Linked DNA regions of Homo sapiens: all the other regions are linked to region 1. The links are contacts of gene promoters, found by promoter capture Hi-C in human tissues and cell types (Jung and others, 2019). All regions are on one chromosome and are shown on one strand. The core of a region is centred on a gene start or on the middle of the fragment in contact, and the rest is flanking DNA. Distances in the headings are between cores, read along the strand shown. Region 1 holds the start of ENPP1 (ectonucleotide pyrophosphatase/phosphodiesterase 1). Region 2 overlaps ENPP3 (ectonucleotide pyrophosphatase/phosphodiesterase 3). Region 3 overlaps MED23 (mediator complex subunit 23).

Region 1 (3,100 bases), core at 426-2,925:
CTGGCAGCCCCGGCCCCAATCTTCTACTATATAGGCAGGTAGCTACTCCGTGTTGCTTATTTCCTTCTTACTGTGCATGTGGTAAAAAAGAGGGGAGGTGGAACCCCCATGGTGGACATGCCTGGCCCCAGTAGCCCCTTCTGTCTGTGCCGCTGCCGGCATCTCCCGTGCAAGCTTCCAGTTTCCTTACCTATGTTTGCAGCCCAATCTTCCAGGTTGCTCTTTGTTAGAAAGGAAGTGATTTCTTGGGCTGCTTTTTGTTAGAAGGTAAGTTCTGCCGAGGGCTCTTTTGCTCATACTATCTGCCTAAATAATTTCTATCTCCTGTATCAATATCCTATGTGTGACTCTATTCTGCATATATGACTTAGGTTTTAATTATTTTGTTTACGAGTTGGTCCTACCCCCCCACCCCCGCTTCCACCACACTTAAGGAAAGATACATTTTAATTCATTTTTTATATGGTATGCATAGTTGGAGGCCAAAAGATTGAGTTGAAGGATTCATTACTTGATGAATAAATGGATGGGTGGATGGATGAGTCAGTATAAATGAAGAGCATCCCAAGTTGACTATTTTAAAGGGATAACATGCATTTTATATTTGTTAAACATTCATTCTCATTTGTAAACACTTGTATATATTCATGTATTCAAAATGTATTGAAAATTAATTGTTTTCCTTGGTACCTGAAGTCAGTCCTGGGTATTGCAAAGTAGTTCGAAGTCACTGGTTTCCCTCTGTCTCACTTCACTACACACTGGTGATTTTGCTAAGTGATGAGCCAGAAAATGTACAAGTTCCAGAATCAAAGGTAAAACAAAACCCACCAAGAATCAGCTCACTGTTAGCGTCCTAGTTGAAAAATAAGGCTTATCAAAGTATTTCAGATTGCATTAACACTTTTGATATAGCTAGGTATCAGTGTCAACCTCAGGAGAGGGCAACGCCAACTCCTGAAACCTTCAATACAGAAAGTCTAGAAAAATAAGCAAATATACATACAAACAATAGCGAGAAGACTCCAGAAACCACATAAAACCGTGGGAATCGAAATATCCCTTACGTGTGTTCAGTACATGTGAACCCACGTATTTTAAGTGGACGATTTCTCTCTCAGAGTACCGTAGGTAGTGGGGGACGGGGCGCAGAGGGGGAGAAACAGAAAGTCGCCTTCCTCCATGGTTCATTTGCATTTCCATCCAGAAACTCACAGGTCGACCCCAAGACTCCACTCTCTCCCGCCTTTGAGAAGCCGGACCGGCATCGGCGGCTGCATCCTTCTCCTCCTCCCCGCTCTATTTTGGGGCCCCATGATCTCATGCCCTCTGCAGACCACACGCTGCAATTCCAGCCCAGCCCGCGCCGCGAGGCCACGCAGGGCGATTCCTGCAAGTGTCGGGAGGGTGGCCGGGGCGCGGGGAGGGGACGGCTTGGGGGGAAGTTTAAGACACGCCCACGTAAGGGACCCAAAATAACCGACACACAGAGTGCCCGAAATCAGACAGGAAGCCAAATAATCCGGGGCGTTGAGTCGCTTTGCCCTGACTGCGAGAGCCGGGTGTAGGGCGGGGAGCCAAGGATCTGACCGCGAGGGGCGGGCGCGGCGGGGAGGGGCGGGGCGGGGCGGGCGGCGCGGGGCCTATTAAAGGCGCGGCCGGGCAGCGGGGCCGGAGCGGCCGGGGCCACGATGGAGCGCGACGGCTGCGCGGGGGGCGGGAGCCGCGGCGGCGAGGGCGGGCGCGCTCCCCGGGAGGGCCCGGCGGGGAACGGCCGCGATCGGGGCCGCAGCCACGCTGCCGAGGCGCCCGGGGACCCGCAGGCGGCCGCGTCCTTGCTGGCCCCTATGGACGTGGGGGAGGAGCCGCTGGAGAAGGCGGCGCGCGCCCGCACTGCCAAGGACCCCAACACCTATAAAGTACTCTCGCTGGTAGGTCCGCGGCCAGGCCCCGGCGCCCGGGAGGGCTGGGAGTACGGGGAGGGCGGCGCCGAGCTCCTGCGCTCTCAGCGCAGTCAGCACCGGGCACCGGAGAGAGGCATGGTCCGGGAGTGCTTCTTCGCCCGCGCGCTCTCCTCCGCAGCCTTTGCAAGTGCCCTACACAGCCGCCCCTGCCAGGTACCTTGCCAGGGCAGGATGGTTCACTCTCACTTGAATTATGGATGCCTGTGAAAGCAGGCTGTTCAAAACGGTCATCCTTAGAAATACTCGACCCCCTGCCCCAGGAGAGTACGGGTTTTTAGAGGAGAAAAATGTCAAACGCGAAAGTTGTTGGTCTTAAGAAGGTGCATCAATGTGTTGCTTCTTTTAGGGGGCTCTGGGCGCAGTATACATGACTTCACTTGGGTTAACTGATTGCAGTTGAAGAGTTAGCGGAGCTCTTTAAGTTTTATTAGGAACTCTACGGAACACTTTTTCCCTTTCGCTCCGTTTTGGAATTTCCTTGCAGGTGCTCAGAAATTCCATGGATGTTCACATTATGTGACTGAAGAAACCTTTATGATTCTTTGCCCACTCTTCTAACCAGAGGCTACACGGTTTGTGTTGCTAACAAAAGCTACCTATTACTCCTCTGCTATTTTGCTATGACATTTGCAGGACCCACAGTCAACTTCATGAAATGTGGGGGTTGGTTTTTATTCTGAATTCATGGTGGGAAGTGCTGATTGAGAGAAGGCCTGGATTCCTGGCTGTTATTATTTGCTGAGGCCTTGCGTAACTGTCCCTAAACCTCAATTTCTAATGTGTGAAAATGGGACAACATCAACTCCCTTGTGCATTGCATGGGATTATTGTGAAAATCAAGCTGAAGAATGTAGGTAGGGAAGTAAATTGAAAACAGCAAGGAAATAGAATCATTTTTATTGTATTATATGGAAATCACAGATTTCTATGTATAGTGTACCCTAAAATATATCCCCTTACATATGATTGAATAATGCTTTGTAGAAAAATTTCTAATTTTTCAAGTCTCCTTTCATTTTGTATGCATTTCCATTTTCACTATATTTGGGACATCATGGAGATGCTATAATACTTTGAGGAATCAATCTTCCTAGACTTAAGAGATGGTGCCGTATGCTTAGTACTTAAAAAGAAGC
Region 2 (3,093 bases), core at 347-2,846, 130 kb before region 1:
TAATTAAACAGTTATTAAGCACACAAAAGTTATATTAACACCATCAGCACAAGCTATCAGCCTAATGTCACTTATTTGCTGCTGTAAACCATAATAGAACTAGAAAAAATATATATATATACACACTTGGCCCTCCATATGTGTGGGTTCTGAATCCGTGGATTCAACTAACTGTGGATTGAAAATATTTGGGTGGAATCAACCTAAATGCCCATCAATGACAGACTAGATAGAGAAAGTGGTACCTATACACCATGGAATATTATGCAGCCATAAAAAAGCAAGCTCATGTTTTTTGTGGGAACATAAATGGAGCTGGAGACTATCATCCTTAGCAAACTATATACCACACATTCTCACTTATAAGTGGGAGCTAAATGATAGGAACTTATTAACGCAAAGGGGAAACAACAGACACTGGGGTCTGCTTGAGGCAGGAGGGTGGGAGGAGGGAGAGGAGCAGAAAGTATAACTATTGAGTGCTGGCTTAATACCTGGGTGATGAAATAATATGTACAACAAACCCCTATGACACATGTTTACCTAGGTAACAAACCTTCACATGTACCCCCAAACCTAAAATAAAAGTGGAAGAAAGAGAGAAAGAAAAGACAGACAGACAGACAGACAGAAAGAAAGAAAGAAAGAAAATATTTGGAAAAAAATTGCGTCTGTACTGAACATGTACAGACTTTTTTTTGTCACTATTCCCTAAACAATACAACAATGATTGACATAGCATGTATATTGCATTAGCTATTATAAGTAATCTAGAGATGATTAAAATATATAGGAGGGTATGCATAGGTTATATGCAAATCCCAAGCCATTTACTAGCAGGGACTTAAACATCTTCTGATTTTGGTACCTGAGGGAGGTCATGGAACTAATGCCCTATGAAAGCCAAGGGATGACAATATCTCCTGATATGTAAGTTCAGGTCCAGGTGTTTTACATTGAAAGGTATATAGTACCTTTCTTAGGTATGAGTAATAGATCGTGTGCTATTTTAATTTAAATTTCTATTTTACTAATATTTTATCTTACATCTTTTTTGAAATTATCATTTTAGGGCTTGTATCCAGAGTCACATGGCATCATTGACAATAATATGTATGATGTAAATCTCAACAAGAATTTTTCACTTTCTTCAAAGGAACAAAATAATCCAGCCTGGTGGCATGGGCAACCAGTATGTAGCATTCTACACGTCGCAACTGAAGTAACCTCCATTTCTCAGTGTGACAGGAGGACACTCTTCTCACTCAGTGGAGCAAGTTCTATGTCACCCATCTAGTTTCTAAGGGCTGAGGGTGCAAAGGTGTTTTACCACTATTTGTAACTTGAATTTTTAAAACATTTATGGTTGTTAACTCAAATAGGTATGTTTAAACTTGGATATTGGGTTATAAATGTATCCATCTGGAAGTTACTCAGAAAGATTATCTGTTAATGTTTTTCCTCATTTTGTTTTGTAAGTCTTTTTTTTTTTCTTTTTTTTTGAGATGGAGTCTTGCTCTGTCGCCAGGCTGGAGTGCAGTGGTGTGATCTCGGCTTACTGTAACCTCTGCTTCTCAGGTTCAAGCACTTCTGCCTCAGCCTCCCGAGTAGCTGGGACTACAGGCACGCACCACCACGCCCAGCTAATTTTTTTGTATTTTTAGTAGAGATGGGGTTTCACCATGTTGGCCGGGATGATCTCTATCTCCTGACCTCGTGATCCTCCTGCCTCGGCCTCCCAAAGTGCTGGGATTACAGGTTGTAATTCTTTTAAAGGGAGAGAGGAACCATCCAATTTTACCAGTTTGATTGCTACGTTTTTGATTTTTGAGGCAGATTCTTAGATAATTATATCTTTTAATTACTACAAAGATTAAAATTTCAATTTTAATACATGTTGCAACTATTAATCTTGTTTAGTTTCTAGTAAGGTACACCATTTCTACCCAAAGTAATTACTGACTTTCGCTTATCCTAAATTTTCTTACAGATGTGGCTGACAGCAATGTATCAAGGTTTAAAAGCCGCTACCTACTTTTGGCCCGGATCAGAAGTGGCTATAAATGGCTCCTTTCCTTCCATATACATGCCTTACAACGGGTAGTGAAGCACTTTCAGATATTCTCCCAGCTAGGCAGAAATGATCAAGATGTTTTCTGTCTTAATCTTGGTGGCAATTCTATTAATCCAGTTGTTTAAGCCAAAAATCTTGGGAATCACCATTGATTCCTTTCCTTTATGTCACTCAAGCAGTCTCTCAGTAAATGCTTTTGGCTGTAATTAAAAATCTATGTAGCCTGAGAACTTTTTATTACCTCTAGCATTACCACTCTGGTTCGAGCTGTCATCTCTTGCCTGTATTAACTGCAGTTGCCTCTTTACTCATCTCTGCTTCTTATCCTTTATAATCTAGTCTCATCCCACCCACCAGAGGGATTCCTTTAAAATTCAAGTCCAGCCAGGTGCGGTGGCTCATGCCTGTAATCCCAGCAGTTTGGGAGGCTGAGATGGGCTGATCACCTGAGGTCAGGAGTTCAAGACCAGCCTGGTCAACATGGTGAAACCCTGTCTCTACCAGAAGAAAAAATACAAAAATTAGCTGGGCATGGTGGCGCATTACCTCTAATCTTGGCTACTCTGGAGGCTGAGGTGGGAGAATAGCTTGAACCCAGGAGGTGGAGGTTGCAGTGAGCTGAGATCAGGGGCTCCTGCAGTGTAGTCCAGCCTGGGCGACAGAGCGCGACTCCGTCTCAAATGAATAAAATAAAATTAAATAAAATAAAATGCAAGTCCAATTATGGCATTATTTTGCACCAAAAACTTCAATGGCCCCCTGTGTCACTCAGAGTAAAAGCTTACAAGGCCCTGTGTGGCATGACCTCTGGTGTCCCCTTACCTCTCAGACCTCCCCTTCTGCTACTCCCTCGGGTGCTCACTCTGAACTCGTTGGTGGACTTCAACATGCTAGACTTGCTTCTGCTGCAGGACATTGCACTGGCTGTTCACCCTCCCTGAGATGATTTGCTCCATGGATCCGAATGCCTACTCTTTCCCTGCCTTCCAGCTCTGTTGAAAAATTACCTTCTCAATATT
Region 3 (3,206 bases), core at 91-2,590, 180 kb before region 1:
ACAATATCAAACTTTTTGGTAGAGGACTGTTTCTGCTCACTCCCTTTTGTGCTGGGATTATAGGTGTAAGCCACTGTGACTGGCCTATTCTCCCTTCTCATCCATCACATACCTTAATCTCTCAAGGATATCCAAGGCTATTCTGTTAATCATTTCCACATATCCAATACCAGTTACATTATCTGATATATAAAGAAGAAATTTCATTCAACATTTATTTATTGACTATGAACTACGTAACCAAGCTTGTAAAAGACAGAACATATACCTAAAAGAACAATTATGAAGTATCATACAAATAAGAAAATTGCATAAGTCTGAGTAAAGAGAAAATAATTAGCAAAAGCTTCTTAGAGTTAACTGTGTGATAAATCATGATTTAAACTAATAATTATCTGTTAGGTCATTACCTGTTAAATCATTTCAGATTAGAGAAAATGCAGAAATAAAGCACAGGGTCAGACACTGGTAATTCCCGGGAAAAGGACAATAACAAAAGTCTCCTGAAGATGCAGAATGGCTTTTGTAGCTATGGAGTCCCTAAGCCGTTTTATGAGACAAAACTAGAAAGTGTATGTTGTTTTTGGTCAAGAGCCCAAAGTGCTGAAGATATTAATTGAGGTAAGACCCACGTTCAAGAGAAGTGAAGCCAGGTCTTGCTCCCTTCATCAGTGATGCCTACATCCCTTCTCAGTTCCACACACCCCTGCTCTGTGCTTTCATTTGAAGGGATCATAATACTTGCAGCATGAAGGAACACGGATTCTGCTTTGTGACTTCCCTGCTCTTCATAAAAATGTATCAGCTACCTGTATTTATAAGAATGTTGGGAGGGGAGTAGCGGAGCCAGGGAAACAACTGAGTAACTTTAAATCTTTTCAGGAAATATACCACAAGAAATAGACAGATTTTGTAAATGCTTCCACATCATTTCTCTCACCTGAAAATAAGACATGCACACCGAAAAATCAATCATATCTGAAAGCAATCACTTTTTATAATAAGAAAAATATACCTTGTAATCCACTCCCCCAATTATTTTCCGAACCAGTTTAAATGTTAAGGCCCAAAGCTGTGTTCTTTCCCACTCAAGAGTGTCAGAGTTTATCAGGGATTCACAAACCAGCCTATAAAAAAAGAAATAGCCATTCCAGTTACAAGACAGAATTTTCCAAGTTCTCTAATAGCCGCCAATATGGTTTGGCTGTGTACTCACACAAATCTCATCTTGAATTGTAGTTCCCATAATCCCCACGTGTCATGAGAAAAACCATTTAAATCATGAGGGACAGTTCCCCCAATACTGTTCTCATGATAGTGAGTTAGTTCTCACAAGATCTAATGGTTTTATATGGGGATTCCCCCTTCACTGGGCACTCATTCTCTCTCCCACCACCCTGTGATGAGGTGCCTTTTGCCATTATTCTAAGTTTCCTGAGGCCTCCCTAGCCATGCCAAACTGTGAGTCAATTAAACCTCTTTCCTTTATAAGTTACCCAGTCTCGGGTATATCTTTGTTAGCAGCATCAGACAGACTAATACAGCCATAGTCTGTGCACTGTATTATATTTATCCTCACAAGTGTCTTTCATAAAAGTGATTACTAAGCACACTTATAAATCTGTGTAGTATTTTACATTTTTTACTTGTATGAAAGATCAAAAACAAAGTAAGAATGAAATAATATTCATTATGTTATATTTTACTAGAAAGAAGTCTATCTAAAGCTTTCGGTTAGATGTTTACCATCTATCACCTTGTGGTACACTGGATTTTTCCAACAGGATGGCAACAAGATTTTTGATCCCACATCTTCTTCTGAAATGTGACACTGACATTTCTCCCAAGGAGAGGTAGGGGGAAAGTCTACGTTCTCACTCCTTAGATCTGGGCAGACCTAAGACTATGGCCAAAAGGATGCAGTATGACTTCCAAGAAGACAAGGTGATACAATTTCTGCCTAGCCCTCTTTTGCACACTTGCTGTTAGGCTCCACCATGAGGTGAGAAAGTCTAGGCCACAAGGTGAGGGCCTGCGGAGGTTCTGGCTAATAATCCCAGCTGAGGTTCCAGATGACAGCCAGGAATCAACCACCAGATATCTGAGTGGGGAAGCTTTTGCCATGCTCCAGCCCTAGCCACATTGATCACAATCATTATGACCTTGAGTAAAAAGTGTCTCCTAAGCCGAGTCAACCACTAAAACCATGAATAATTTTAAAACCTGAGTATTACTGTTTTAAGCCATAAGGTGTTGAGGTTGTGCAGCAAAAGTAAAGGGTTACAAACTAATTAAAGTGATTAATTTCAGCCCCTGGGCAGAAACATCTGGTTTTGAGCCCACAAGCATTACCTAATTCAAAGACTATTACTCCTAGAAACTAAAACCTGAGGTATTATATAAAGGATTACTTGATAAACCTCACCTTCTTCTTCATTCTCTTACCTTTTTACAACAACAACCTCAACCAATTTCCAATCACATATAGAAAAGAAAATTCTTCAGATTGCTCATACCCATTAAACGTACCTGGGTGGAAGGAGACCAGTCTCAACTGCCATTGCTAAGCAGTCATAAAGAAAAGAAATTCTTTTAGGACTATGCTGACCATGAATAAACTTAACAATCCACTGGATACACTGTTCATGAGACTCCTGGAAAATGAGAGAATGATTTTACTTGGGGTCTAAAGTTACATTTTTATAACCAATAGCTAATACTACAACTGGAAGTATACCAATACTATGAAAGAAATACTTCACTATGAGCATCTGTGGATGAAAATAATTTTTAAAAAAAGCAAAATTAAAAAATTCAGATTTAGTATTTGTCACATTAAGCTTAACATTTTGTAATTACATAGATAAAATGCTACCATTTTTATTACATGGGAACTTCAAAAGTAGTAATTAATTAGTTAACATATTAACGGTCAATAGAAAACTCTTAACACAGATTGTTGTAAGGCATTGTAAACAGTGCCCTTTATGGCATATATAAATATTACTGTCACTGGGGGTAAAATTCATTATGGATCAGTATGTATCAGGCTTAGGAGAATTAGGTGTGAATCCAATCCCTAAGATCCCAAACAAGAGCCCATTATGAATCCAATGACATGTCACATTTCTAGACTGGCAAAACTTTAAATACGATGTCAAAATGTTGTGCCCGTATCAAAGTTTGTCTTCTAGGATTATCTCCAA

Evidence for each region. The method cuts DNA at HindIII sites, captures the fragments that hold promoters and counts their contacts. A contact is called where the count stands out against the background at its distance.
Region 2: a contact is called between a fragment that was not itself captured here and the fragment with the promoter of ENPP1 in region 1, in 1 of the 25 tissues and cell types used here (IMR-90 fibroblasts).
Region 3: a contact is called between a fragment that was not itself captured here and the fragment with the promoter of ENPP1 in region 1, in 1 of the 25 tissues and cell types used here (dorsolateral prefrontal cortex).

Annotation. Positions count from the first base shown.
Region 1 is chr6:131,806,345-131,809,444 of GRCh38, forward strand. It overlaps ENPP1 (ectonucleotide pyrophosphatase/phosphodiesterase 1), which reads left to right and starts at 1,676. Exons shown (of 25, transcript NM_006208.3): 1 at 1,676-1,931. The coding sequence starts at 1,692. The HindIII fragment of the contact is 10,154 bases long and covers 1-3,100 here.
Region 2 is chr6:131,673,090-131,676,182 of GRCh38, forward strand. ENPP3 (ectonucleotide pyrophosphatase/phosphodiesterase 3) reads left to right here. Exons shown (of 25, transcript NM_005021.5): 8 at 1,073-1,192; 9 at 1,991-2,100. Among named protein-coding and RNA genes, the nearest start is that of OR2A4, 27 kb to the right of the region's middle. The HindIII fragment of the contact is 5,272 bases long and covers 1-3,093 here.
Region 3 is chr6:131,622,336-131,625,541 of GRCh38, forward strand. MED23 (mediator complex subunit 23) reads right to left here. Exons shown (of 29, transcript NM_004830.4): 4 at 2,530-2,654; 5 at 1,016-1,127. Among named protein-coding and RNA genes, the nearest start is that of MED23, 4.3 kb to the right of the region's middle. The HindIII fragment of the contact is 5,524 bases long and covers 1-3,206 here.